Regions from separate parts of the Homo sapiens genome. Here region 1 is linked to region 2. Evidence: promoter capture Hi-C in human tissues and cell types (Jung and others, 2019). All regions are on one chromosome and are shown on one strand. The core of a region is centred on a gene start or on the middle of the fragment in contact, and the rest is flanking DNA. Distances in the headings are between cores, read along the strand shown. Region 1 has its middle 47 kb from the start of ZNF626. Region 2 holds the start of ZNF66 (zinc finger protein 66).

Region 1 (5,931 bases), core at 2,444-4,943, 68 kb after region 2:
TTTTACCTCACTGTAATTAACCAAAGAGGCAGAAGCTGAGTTAACAAATGCTTCAGCAATGGCATGCCTCCCAGTTACAACCACAAAACTTTTTGCTTCTGTTTCGCTAGGTTTACTAATGTGGGATCGAGGGTACGCTTGTGTTTTTGCAGGAGATGAATGAAACCATGTGGATGCAACCCCTATAACATGGGACAGAGCAAGAAAACAGCACAGGAAGCTGAGAAACTACTGGAATGCCAGGGTTTTACCTATGGATGCTTAACGGACCAATGCTTTCTGACTGAGCTCCTCTCTACCCTGAATACAAGAGTCCCTAATAGTTAGGCAGGATTATCGTCACTCCTATTCAGCATGAAGAAGTTACAGAAGATGGACCTTCATCCTTCTGCAACCCCTAGGATTAAGGGTCCTCTTGTAAAAGGGAAAAGGGAGATATGTGGGAAGAATTCAAACCAGAGCAACTCCATTTTGAATAAGAGCTAAGTAAGTAGAGCTAAGTAAGTAGAGCTAGAGATAAGTAGAGATAGAGATAGAGAGATAGAGATAAATAGAGAGATAGAGATAAACAGAGATAAATAGAGAGATAGAGATAAATAGAGATAGATGAAGACTAGCAATATAAGATCAGTGCCCTAAAGAGGTACAAAAGCAAAGACTAGCAATATAAGGTCAGTGCCCTAAAGAGGTACAAAAGTTGAGGCTAGCAAAGACTAGCAGAGATTTGCAGGGACAGACAGGAACATTCTGAATTATGGAAATTAGCTATGGCTCAAAGTCCAAGCAAAATCTGAGAGGGCAAATATACAAGGAATAGAGGGGAGGAAGGTAAGGATAAAAATGCTCTTTCTTTTCTCTCCAACAGGACCTTTTGGATTCAAAGTTGTGCTAGCAATAGGAAATGTTACTCTTGATATAAATATATGCCTTATTACTTGCCCCGAATGTCACTTGTTTACCTACATTAATTCAACCTTTGATAAAAATCAAACTATCTTGATAATTAAAGCCAGAGAAGGAGTTTGGATCCCTGTACCTCTAAATAGACCATGGAGACATCACCATCTATTTATATTGTAACTGAGACCCTTAAAAAACTATTATCCCATTCTAAAAGATTTATAGTTGAAGGCCATTGGAGGCTCTACATTTGTGGATTTTGTTCTGGTGGTTGTGTGCTTGTGCTGTCTTCTTTTAGTCTGCAGATGCGAAAGCTGCCTCTGAAGATGAAGCCACCTCTGAGAGAAAGCTGACTTCAAGAACAAGCAATGATAGCTGTGGCGGTTTTATGAAAAAGAAAAGGGGGGCATGTTGGGAGAAAAGCTGAGTGTTGGGAGAGAAGCTGAGGCAGGGCTTGCATGTCTGACATAATGTAAAAGAGTCTTGGAACATGTCTGGGGTCCAGGGTATAAAAACTTCTGTGGCCTTTGGAACACCAAGCTCTGTGCTAAAGGGTGGAAGGCTACACTGAAGCACCATAATCTAAGCCCAGGGCATAAAATCCCTCATGGCTTGAATAGAATCCAGGGCTCGTGGCCCTGGAATGTGTCTAGACTTGCTGGCTCCTTGCTCCTTGCTCTTCCAGGATTGACTGTATCTTGAGTTAAAAGAACCTGCTCTCCATTATCTCAAGTAGCAGAGCATATGCTAAACCATCACAGCTGTAGATCATGCACTTGCCCTTTCGACCCCACATTCTCACCATCTGTTTCTTTGTTGGATTACCAATAAATAGCATGGCATCCCAGAGCTCGGGGCCTTCGCAGCCTCCATACACTAGCAATGGCCCCCTGGTCCCACTTTTCTCTCTCAAACTTTTTCTCAATCCTTTGACTCCACTGGACTTTGTCACCCCCACAACCCGGTGTTGGGTCTGATCACACCAACACACCAATACTGATATAATTGGCTAATTGGTATCACCTGGGCTCATTTAATTGGCTGATTGGAATCACCTTGGGCTAATCTAATTGGCTAATTGTATTAACCTTTATGATATAATTGACTAATTGGTATCACATGGGCTCGTTTAATTGGCTGATTGTAATCACCTGGGCTGAGCTAACTGGCTGACTAGGGTCACATGGGCTGAGTTCATTGATTGTGTCTTGAGGAGAATGAGTAAGGTAATAACCTTTTACATACTTTTCTTTTGGGGCTTTTTGTCAAGACATACTCACAAATAGGCATTAATTAGACATATGTATATAAGCCTTTGTGTTTGTTTATGTTTTCCTATATACATGTCTTTTTTTTTTTTAAAATAGAGTTTCATTCTTGCTGCCCAGGCTGGAGTGCAATGGCATGATCTCAGCTCACTGCAACCTCTGCCTCCTGGGTTCAAGTGATTCTCCTGCCTCAGCCTCCTGAGTAACCAGGATTACAGGCATGTGCCACAATGCCCACCTAATTTTTTTGTACTTTTAGTAGAGACAAGGTTTCTCCATGTTGGCCAGGCTGGTCTTGAATTCCCTATCTCAAATGATCTGCCTGCCTCGGCCTCCCAAAGTGCTGGGATTACAGGTGTGAGCCACCATGCCCAGCCATATGTGTCTTATATCTGTTTCCAAATCTACAGAAGAAAGTGTCTGGCCAGGCGCGGTGGCTCACGCCTGTAATCCCAGTACTTTGGAAGGCTGAAGTGGGCTGATCACCAGAGGTCAGGAGTTTGAGACCAGATTGACCAACATGGTGAAACCTTGCCTCTAAGTAAAAATACAAAAATTAGCCAGACCTGTTGGCAGGCACCTGTAGTCGCAGCTACTCAGGAGGCTGAGGCAGTTGAATCACTGGAACCCAGGAGGCGGAGATTGCAGTGAACCAAGATCATAGCACCACTGCACTCCAGCCTGGTGACAGAGCAAGACTCCATTAAAAAAAAAAAACTATGCTTACTTTGTATAAGTTAAATGATGATAGATTTAGGTAATAGCATACATCCATTTGAGTAGCATTCTAGGTATATTTCATACGGCAGAAAATTTTATACCTCTATGGAATTATCTTTGTATATTACTATTGATATCAATTACGATCAACACTTTCACCTTCTACATCTTTATTTTTTGTGAATATAGGTACAAACCTGGATACATCTGGATGTAGGTAGATAAACACACACGTACAGAATTATATAATTATAATTACATAAATGTTTATTAATATACAAGATTTCAGCAAATGACATTTTTAATACCTTAGTATATACTAAGAATGCAGATGTGGACTTACTAGTCTACTTTATGGCACAATAGAAATCCATAATGGAACACAGACATACAATGATGTTTACATAAACAAAGCTTCACTGTCAAAGGCAAGGTCTTGGAAACAAGCTGACAATACAGCAATGTAATGCTTTATGACCAGATTAGAGTCTTTGGGCCCTGCTTTTCTTCTCAGTGTAGAAAAATGCTGTTTAAATCTGCCATTCTGATCTAATGAATCTACAGTCACTATTTAGATTATTGGCTGATTTGATCCACCTGTGCAGAACTATTTGTCTTATTGAAATCAACTAACCTGAGCTAATTGGTTAATTAGATACTTCTGAACTGAACTAATTGACTCATTGGAATCACAGTTCTAACTAACTGGCTGATTGGATTCTCTAGAATTTCTCTAGCTAATTTCCCGATTAAAATCACATGAGCTAGCCAGGTGCGGTGGCTCATGCCTGTAATCCCAGCACCTTGGGAGGCCGAGGCAGGTGGATCACCTGAGCTCGGGAGTGCAAGACCAGCCTGCACAACATGGAGAAACCTTGTCTCTACTAAAAATACAAAATTAGCTGGGTGTGGTGGCACATGCCTGTAATCCCAGCTACTTGGGAGGCTGAGGCAGGGGAATCCCTTGAACCCGGGAGGTGGAGGTTGCAGTGAGCCGAGATCATGCCATTGCATTCCAGCCTGGACGACAGAGTGAGAGACTCCGTCAAAAAAGTAAAATAAAATTACATGAGCTGAGCTTTCTGATTAGGATCACTGAGGCTGAGTTAATTGGCCAATTAGAGTCACCTGGGCTGATCTCATTGACTGATTGAAATTGTTAAGGCTGAGCTAATTGGCTGTTTAAAGTCACCTAGGCTGAGCGAATTACTGATTGGAATCACCTGGATTGAGTCAATTGGCGAAATGTAATCACCTGGGCTGAGCAAATTTACTGATTGTAATTGCCTAAGCTGACATAATTGGCCTAATGGAATCACTTGCGCTGAGCTAATTGGCTAATAGGAATCGCCTGGGCTCAGCTAATTGGCTGATTGAAAACAGCTGACTTGAGCTCATTGGCTTATTAAATTTGCCTCATGGAATCGCATTCATCTATCTTGAGGAGCATGAGTACGGACATAACCTCTGACTTACTTTACATTTGTGAGATGTTATAAAACATAGTCACAAATTCAGGTTACATATGTATGTCTCTATATGTTTCTATGACCCTGGGTCTTTGTATTTTTTTTTTTTTTCTTTTTGAGACAGAGTCTCATTTTGTCACCCAAGCCGGAGTGAAGTGGTGTGATCATGGTTCACTGAAACTTCCACCTCCCATGTTGAAGCAATTCTCATGCCTCAGCCTACCTAGTATCTGGGATTGCAGGTGTGTACTACCATGCTCAACTAAGTTTTGTATTTTTAGTGGAGACGGGATTTTGCCATGTTGGCTCAGCTGGTCTCACCATGCCCAGCTAATTTTTGTATTTTTAGTAGAGATGGGGTGTCGCTATGTTGGCTTGGCTGGTCTTGAACTCCTGGCTTCAAGTGAAGGACCTGCCTTGGCCTCCCAAAGTGCTGGAATTACAGGCATGAGCCACTGCACCTGGCTGTATATATTTCTCTAGCTACATATGTTATATCTGTATCTAAATCCAAAGAAAAAAGCATCTGAAAACACCCTGAAATTTGCTTTCAGTATAGCAGTCCATCTTAAAGTCAGAGACCTCTTGTTTAATTTTCTTACCCAAAATGTTACTACTTGAGCAAACACAACAATATGATAAGATTCTATTTCTGCCAGGCACTGTGGCTCACATCTGTAATCCCAGCAGTTTGGGAGGCTGAGGCAGGCAGATCACCTGAGGTCAGGAGTTGAAGACCAGGCTGACCCACATGGAGAAACCCCGTCTCTACTAAAAATACAAATTTAGCCAGGTGTGTTGTTGGGTGCCTGTAATCCCAGCTACTCGGGAGGCTGAGGCACGAGAATCACTTGAACCTGGGAGGTAGAGGTTTTAGTGAGTCAAGATGTTGCCATTGCACTCCAGCCTCCGCAACAAGAGTGAAACTCTGCAAAAAAAAAAAAAAAAAAAAAAAAAAAAAAGCCGGAAACAGTATCTCATGCCTGTAATCCTAGCACTTTGGGAGGCTGAAGTGGGCAGATCACAAGGTCAGAAATTGGAGACCAGCCTGACCAACATGGTGAAACCCCATCTCTGCTAAAAATACAAGAATTAGCCAGGCGCGGTGGCGTATGTGGTTTTAAACTCAGCTACCCAGGAGGCTGAGGCAGAAGAACTGCTTGAGCCTGGAAGGCGGAGGTTACAGTGAGCTGAGATCGTGCCACTGCACTCCAGCCTGGGTGACAGAGTGAGACTCTGTCTCAAAAAAAAAAGAAAAGAAAGAAAGAAAGAGAAGAAGATTCTATTTCTATGTCACATATTTGAAAATAAAAGCTCTAAAATTGAGGGAAGCTTTAAAGAGAATTATTTCTCATTTGCAAATTTGGATTAAGGCTTTCAAGCTAAGGCTAGTTTATCCATATTTTCCCATTCACCAGAATTAAAAAGGCCATGTTTGACTTGGCAATAAATGACTCGATGGCCTTAGTGCACTTTTGCTAACAGATTGTGAGCAACAAAAACCAATTCTTTCTTTGAAAACATCAAATGCAGCAAGATGCAGGTCAGAGTATACCTCCATTTGTGTACTCTTA
Region 2 (5,635 bases), core at 2,316-4,815:
ACAACATTTACCTCCCGAGTTCAAGCGATTCTCCTGCCTCAGCCTCCCGAGTAGATGGGATTACAGGCATGCACCACCACACCTGTTGATTTTTTTTTTTTTTTTGTAGTGATGGGATTTCTCCATGTTGGTCAGGCTGGTCTTAAACTCCCAACCTCAGGTGATCCGCCCACCTCAGCCTTCCAGTAATTTTTGTATTTTTAGTAGAGACAGGATTTCATCATGTTGGCCAGGCTGGTCTCAAACACCTGTCCTCAGGTGATCCGACTGCCTCAGACTCCCAAAGTGTTGAGATCACAGGCATGAGCCACTGGGCCCGGACTAAAATAAAATATTTCTTAATCATACTTTTCTTAAGTTTATTTCCCTCCCTCAGGCTCCTGAACTTTGAGCTACCCTCAGTCTGAGTCAACATACAACCCCATTTTACATTCCTCCTAAGAACATGCTGATTTCAGGGTAAGACATCCTCTGATCTAAAATCTGACTTTTTCACTCTCCATTTGCCATTCACCTCCCACCTCCTTTCTTATCTTGTTTACCTCTCCCTAAAAAAGAAAGCCCTTTTCTGCCTACATCTTTGCAAGCCATAAAGATCTTATATTTAGTTGGTACTTTCTCCTGTTGCAATAATTTTTTGGAATTCATTTTTTTTTTACATAAATCTAATGTTTTTATTTTACAAAGTACAGAAAGTGCCACAAAACATAACGACTGCATCATCAGTAAGACCCTCTCAGTTTCCTTTCATCTTAACCTCAACTGCATCTGCCTGTGGGACCCCAGCTTTCCAGGGCTCTGTAGCTTCTCTCAGGATAAAGGCTCCTTCTATGGCTGGGGTGAGCAGGCTGGACACCTGCACGGGAGGCTCCCCAGAAAAAACTAACTGAGTCTTCAATATCCAGTTGCAGGCTTAATTATTAGCCTTAGCTTGGAGTCACTAGGTTCAAGCTTTAATTTCCATGTCAGAATTACTCACTTAGTTTTTGAAACTATGTGTTTGAAAAATCCAGGGAAATTACTCAAACGCAGTGTTTACATAAGGGAAGGAAATTTTAAGGTTCTTACTTTTTTTTTTTTTTTTTTGAGACGAAGTCTCACTCTGTGGCCCAGGCTGGAGTTCAGTGGCATGATCTCGGCTCACTGCAACCTCCACCTCCCGGGTTCAAGACATTCTTGTTCCTCAGCCTCCCAAGTAGCTGGGAATACAGGCATATGCCACCACACCTGGCTAACTTTTGTATTTTTAGTAGAGATGAGTTTCACCATGTTGGGCAGGCTGGTCTCAAATTCCTGACCTCAAGTAATCAACCTGTCTAGGCCTCCCAAAGTGCTGAAACTACAGGCATGAGCCACTGCACCTGGCTAAGATGCTTGCATTTTATACCCCTATAAGAAAAGCATATATATCTACTTCTTTCAGACAATGTATGTATTATTTTATTATTTATCTTAAAAATAATGCAGTAGGCCGGGCACTGTGGCTCACGCCTCTAATCCCAACACTTTGGAAGGCCAAGGTGGGTAGATCACGAGGTCAGAAGATTGAGAACATTTTGGCCAACATGGTGAAACCCTGTCTCTACTAAAAACACAAAAAAATTGGCTGGACGTGGTGACACACACCTGTAATCCCAGCTACTTGGGAGGCTGAGGCAGGAGAACTGCTTGAACCTGGGAGGCAGAGGTTGCGTGAGCCGAGATCACGCCACTGCACTCCAACCTGGTGACGGAGTGAGACTCTGTTTCAAAAAAATAAGTAAATAAATAAAATAATGTAGTAAAAAATTAGTCATATGGGAACACTTCTAGAAGGTACCATGTTTCATCACTTAAAATTTAGCATTTAACTCAGAAATCAAAATAAAAGGATATAGAAAAAATTTACCCTGCAAAAAGAGGAACTAATGTGTTGATGAATCCATGTAACTCCTCAATTATCTACCACATTTTCCTGTGGAAATATATTCATTGTCTACAGCCAAAATGGAAGAGAGATTTTCCCTATATTTTTCCTTGGTAACTAGCATTCCTGGCAAACATGGTGAAACCTCATCTCTACTAAAAATATGAAAACTAGCTGGGAGTGGTGGCGCTTGCCTGTAGTCCCAACTACTGGAGAGGCTGAAGCAGGAGAATCGCTTGAACCCATGAGGTGGAGGTTGCAGTGAGCCAAGATCTGACACTGCACTCTAGCCTGGCGACAGAGCAAGACTCCGTCTCAAAAAATAATAATAATAATAATAATTAATTGAGGAACATGGGGGACACTTGAGGCCCTGCTTGGGACACATGTGAAAAATGCCAGGGAAAGTCAGTCCCCTGTGGGATGTGAAAATAATTAAGTGGCAGGCAATTAGACTGAAGAGGCTCTAGTCCCCGGATTTCTATTTCTAAAAAAAAAAAAAAAAAAAAATCTAAGCTCAAGTGCATTTTTTGGCAAATTACTACATTAGGGGAAACAAAATTCAGGCTTCAGCAACTATAAACTGCCAATTAAGCTCTAATTACATAACCAGGAAATTTCCACCTTGATTGTACAAATTAAGAAACTACATTACTAAACCTAACAAATTATTGAATTTGGTTTTCCTCATCATGCATTTTATAAATGTCTTTTCTTCAAGCCTCTCCCATGGACCACAAACTACAAACTATAGCTGGGTGCTCTACAATTCTTGAATCACTCTTTGATTAAATTGTTTGATATTTTTGCAGTGACTCCCATAATTTTTTTTTTTTTTTTTTTTTTTTAGACAAGAGTCTTGCTCTGTCGCCCAGGCTGGAGTGCAGTGGCAGGATTTCAGCTCACTGCAACCTCCGCCTCCCGGGTTCAAGCGATTCTCTCACTTCTGCCTCCCGAGAAGCTGGGACTACAGACATTCGCCAACATATCCACCTAATTTTTGTATTTTTAGTAGACAAGGGGTTTCCCCATTTTGGTCAGTCTGGTCTTCAACTCCTGACCTCAAGTGATCCGCCCGCCTCGGCCTCCCAACGTGCGGGGATTACAGGCTTGAACGACCGCGCCCGGCCCCATACAATTTTAATAGCAGAAAAGAGAAACTGTGAACCCCACAGACCAAAGCTCTTCCCATTCATGAACCCGCACCGCGAGTCAGCATTCTCCCCTGAAGACCCTCCGGTGGTCCCTGCACAATCTGGGAGAGACACGGCACTGCGGGTGCAGAGCTGCCCACAGAGCGCTCCAGGCCAGGGGCACAGTCACTGCGCGGGGAAGCGACAGGACGCCCGGGGGCCAGGCTGTCAGCGTAGCCGCCATCTTATGGCTGAATGGGACTGAGGCAGAGCTGGGTAAGGAGAATTCGGGGTGCAGATTGTGGAGCTGACTGAGGGGAGGCCTGAGTCCCGCCACAGACACTTCACCTCTCTCGGGATGCTGGACCGGCACTCTCACCATTTCTAGGCTTCCAGGGGGTCCTGGCGTCTTAGCTGTGGATCTCCCAATACCTGCAGGACACAGGGCCACAGAGGCTGGGCCTCTAGGAGAAGAAGACAGAGAGCAGTGAACAGACGACCTGGAGCTCCAGCTGCAGGGAGAGACAAAGACCCCGCCAAATCCGGAAGCCGTCCTGTTCATTCCAGCTGCGTGCCTGATTGGACGGTTTCCAGCCCAGCGCCTCTGATTGGCTAATGCTTAAGGTCCCGCCCCCTCAGACACTGAGTGACAGAAGATGTGATCAGCTGCTGGGCGGAGTGAAGAAAAGAGTGACAGCCTAAGCTGCAGCCTTTTCAGGCAGGGCTTCCTCCCAGAGCTGAGCCTGGTCCATGCCAGAGCATGGGAACATTTTATCTCTTTTTTACTCTCTGTCTTGTTGAATGTATTCAAAGGTGAACAGAAGTATTTTGCTGTCATATTAATAATACATAAAATTTTTGTTCAAGAGAAAATCAGCTTTTACTTTGGTAATAGTGTATTAACGATTAAAGCTAATTTTAATAAAACCTTATAAATAAATCAAATTTGTCATTTTTGACCACTCCAGATTTACATATATATTTTGTAATCCCTGTAATTTTTTTATCTATTTATATTTTATTTTTATCCACATTCTTCTTATTTTTTCAACTTGAAACAACCTTTAAGTAATTTCAAACTGCTATAAGAGATAGAAATAATTTAGGGTCAGGCACAGGTAGCTCATGCCAGTAATCCCAACACTTTGGGAGGCCAAGGTGGGTGGATCACTTGAGGTCAGGAGTTCAAGACTAGCCTGGCCAACATGGTGAAACCCCATCTCTACTCACAATGTAAAAAATTAGCTGGGTATGGTGGTGCACATCTGTGGTCCCAGCTACTCCGGAGGCTGAGGCAGGAGAATCACTTGAACCCAGGAGGTGGAGGTTATGTAACAGCCCAAGGGGTTCATTTTGCCCTTTGCCTAGACAGAGCCAATTCATGAAGACAGGAGAATTTATGGAGGAAAAGTTAAATGTTAAATTTGAACTCAATTGAACGTGGACACAATGGTCACCAAGTCCCAGAACAGGTCCTGGTTGTGAGCCCCTGAGGTGTTCATCCAGAGCTGTATCAAAGAAATGTCTATTTCATTCTATTACTATACATTAGTTGTTGAAAAACAATAGACAATCACAAAAACAACTTGACCCTTTTGTGTTCCGTGAGGCAAGTCCCAAATGGCCCTCCTCACTGGGCCTTATGCCAAACAACTCGTTACAAAAGAGCTAGGGTCCCAGACCACCCTGAAGCTTCATGAGACTCCTTGTCTGTGCATGAATGGGTGGCCGACTCTGGAGCCTGGGCTGTTTCTTCCTACTCAGTTGGTAATCCTCCATAGTCTAGTGAGGGTAAATATATATATATATCTTTTCCCATCTCCTCTTCTTACTGCAATTTGCTTATTATATCAATCTGTGTATTATATTTATTTGCTTATTATATCATTTGCTTATTATATCATTAGTTTATTCTGTCTGCATTGATATTGATGTGGGTTAAAGCTTGTTTACCATTAAAGTTATTGTATGTATGTCTTTTCTTCTCCTCTCCCACGTTTCCCATACAGAACATTTTTGGCATCACAAACAGGATTTGAAAACAAAAGTGGGCCCCTTTTTGACCAGAAGGATAGGGCTGGAGGCTCAAGGATTTCCCATATCCTGAGATGGGATCACTCCCAGTTCTCCTTCTTTGTGATTGAATGGTTCAGGGGAACTGGCCTTTGTGGGAATTGGGAATCTAAATTAGTGCAATTTAAACCTTTGACTGTGCGTGAAGTGCTGCAGGGGATTCCAGTCACCAAAGGAGATGCTGAGGGAATCTCACAAAGTGGATAGTGTTTGATTGCTGCTTATAAGTTAATGTGTCAAGATAGGGGCTGGTTGCTACAAGAGAAATATAAGCTGGAAAAGGAAAATGCTAATCTGACTTCCGGACTGGCCCTGGCCCAATGCCAGTCAATGTCTTGACTGATCAGGCTCAAAGCTATCAGCCTATTGCTGAAAAAAGCAGCTGTCCAGGTGGCCCAATCAGGGTAAAACTGAAGAACTAGTCAGCCGGGGCTTAGAGCATGTAAAAACCCAGTTCCTATCTCAAAAATGGGAAATTAAGCCTAGTAAAATTAAGGATCCGCACAAAGTGTAAAATTCTTTG

The links. Contacts are between HindIII fragments. The study calls those that stand out against the background at their distance.
Region 1: a contact is called between a fragment that was not itself captured here and the fragment with the promoter of ZNF66 in region 2, in 3 of the 25 tissues and cell types used here (H1 embryonic stem cells, mesendoderm cells and thymus).

What each region holds. Positions count from the first base shown.
Region 1 is chr19:20,705,685-20,711,615 of GRCh38, reverse strand. No RefSeq gene overlaps it. Among named protein-coding and RNA genes, the nearest start is that of ZNF626, 47 kb to the right of the region's middle. The HindIII fragment of the contact is 7,019 bases long and covers 184-5,931 here.
Region 2 is chr19:20,774,234-20,779,868 of GRCh38, reverse strand. It overlaps ZNF66 (zinc finger protein 66), which reads right to left and starts at 3,565. Exons shown (of 4, transcript NM_001355197.2): 1 at 3,419-3,565. The coding sequence starts at 3,421. The HindIII fragment of the contact is 10,177 bases long and covers 1-5,510 here.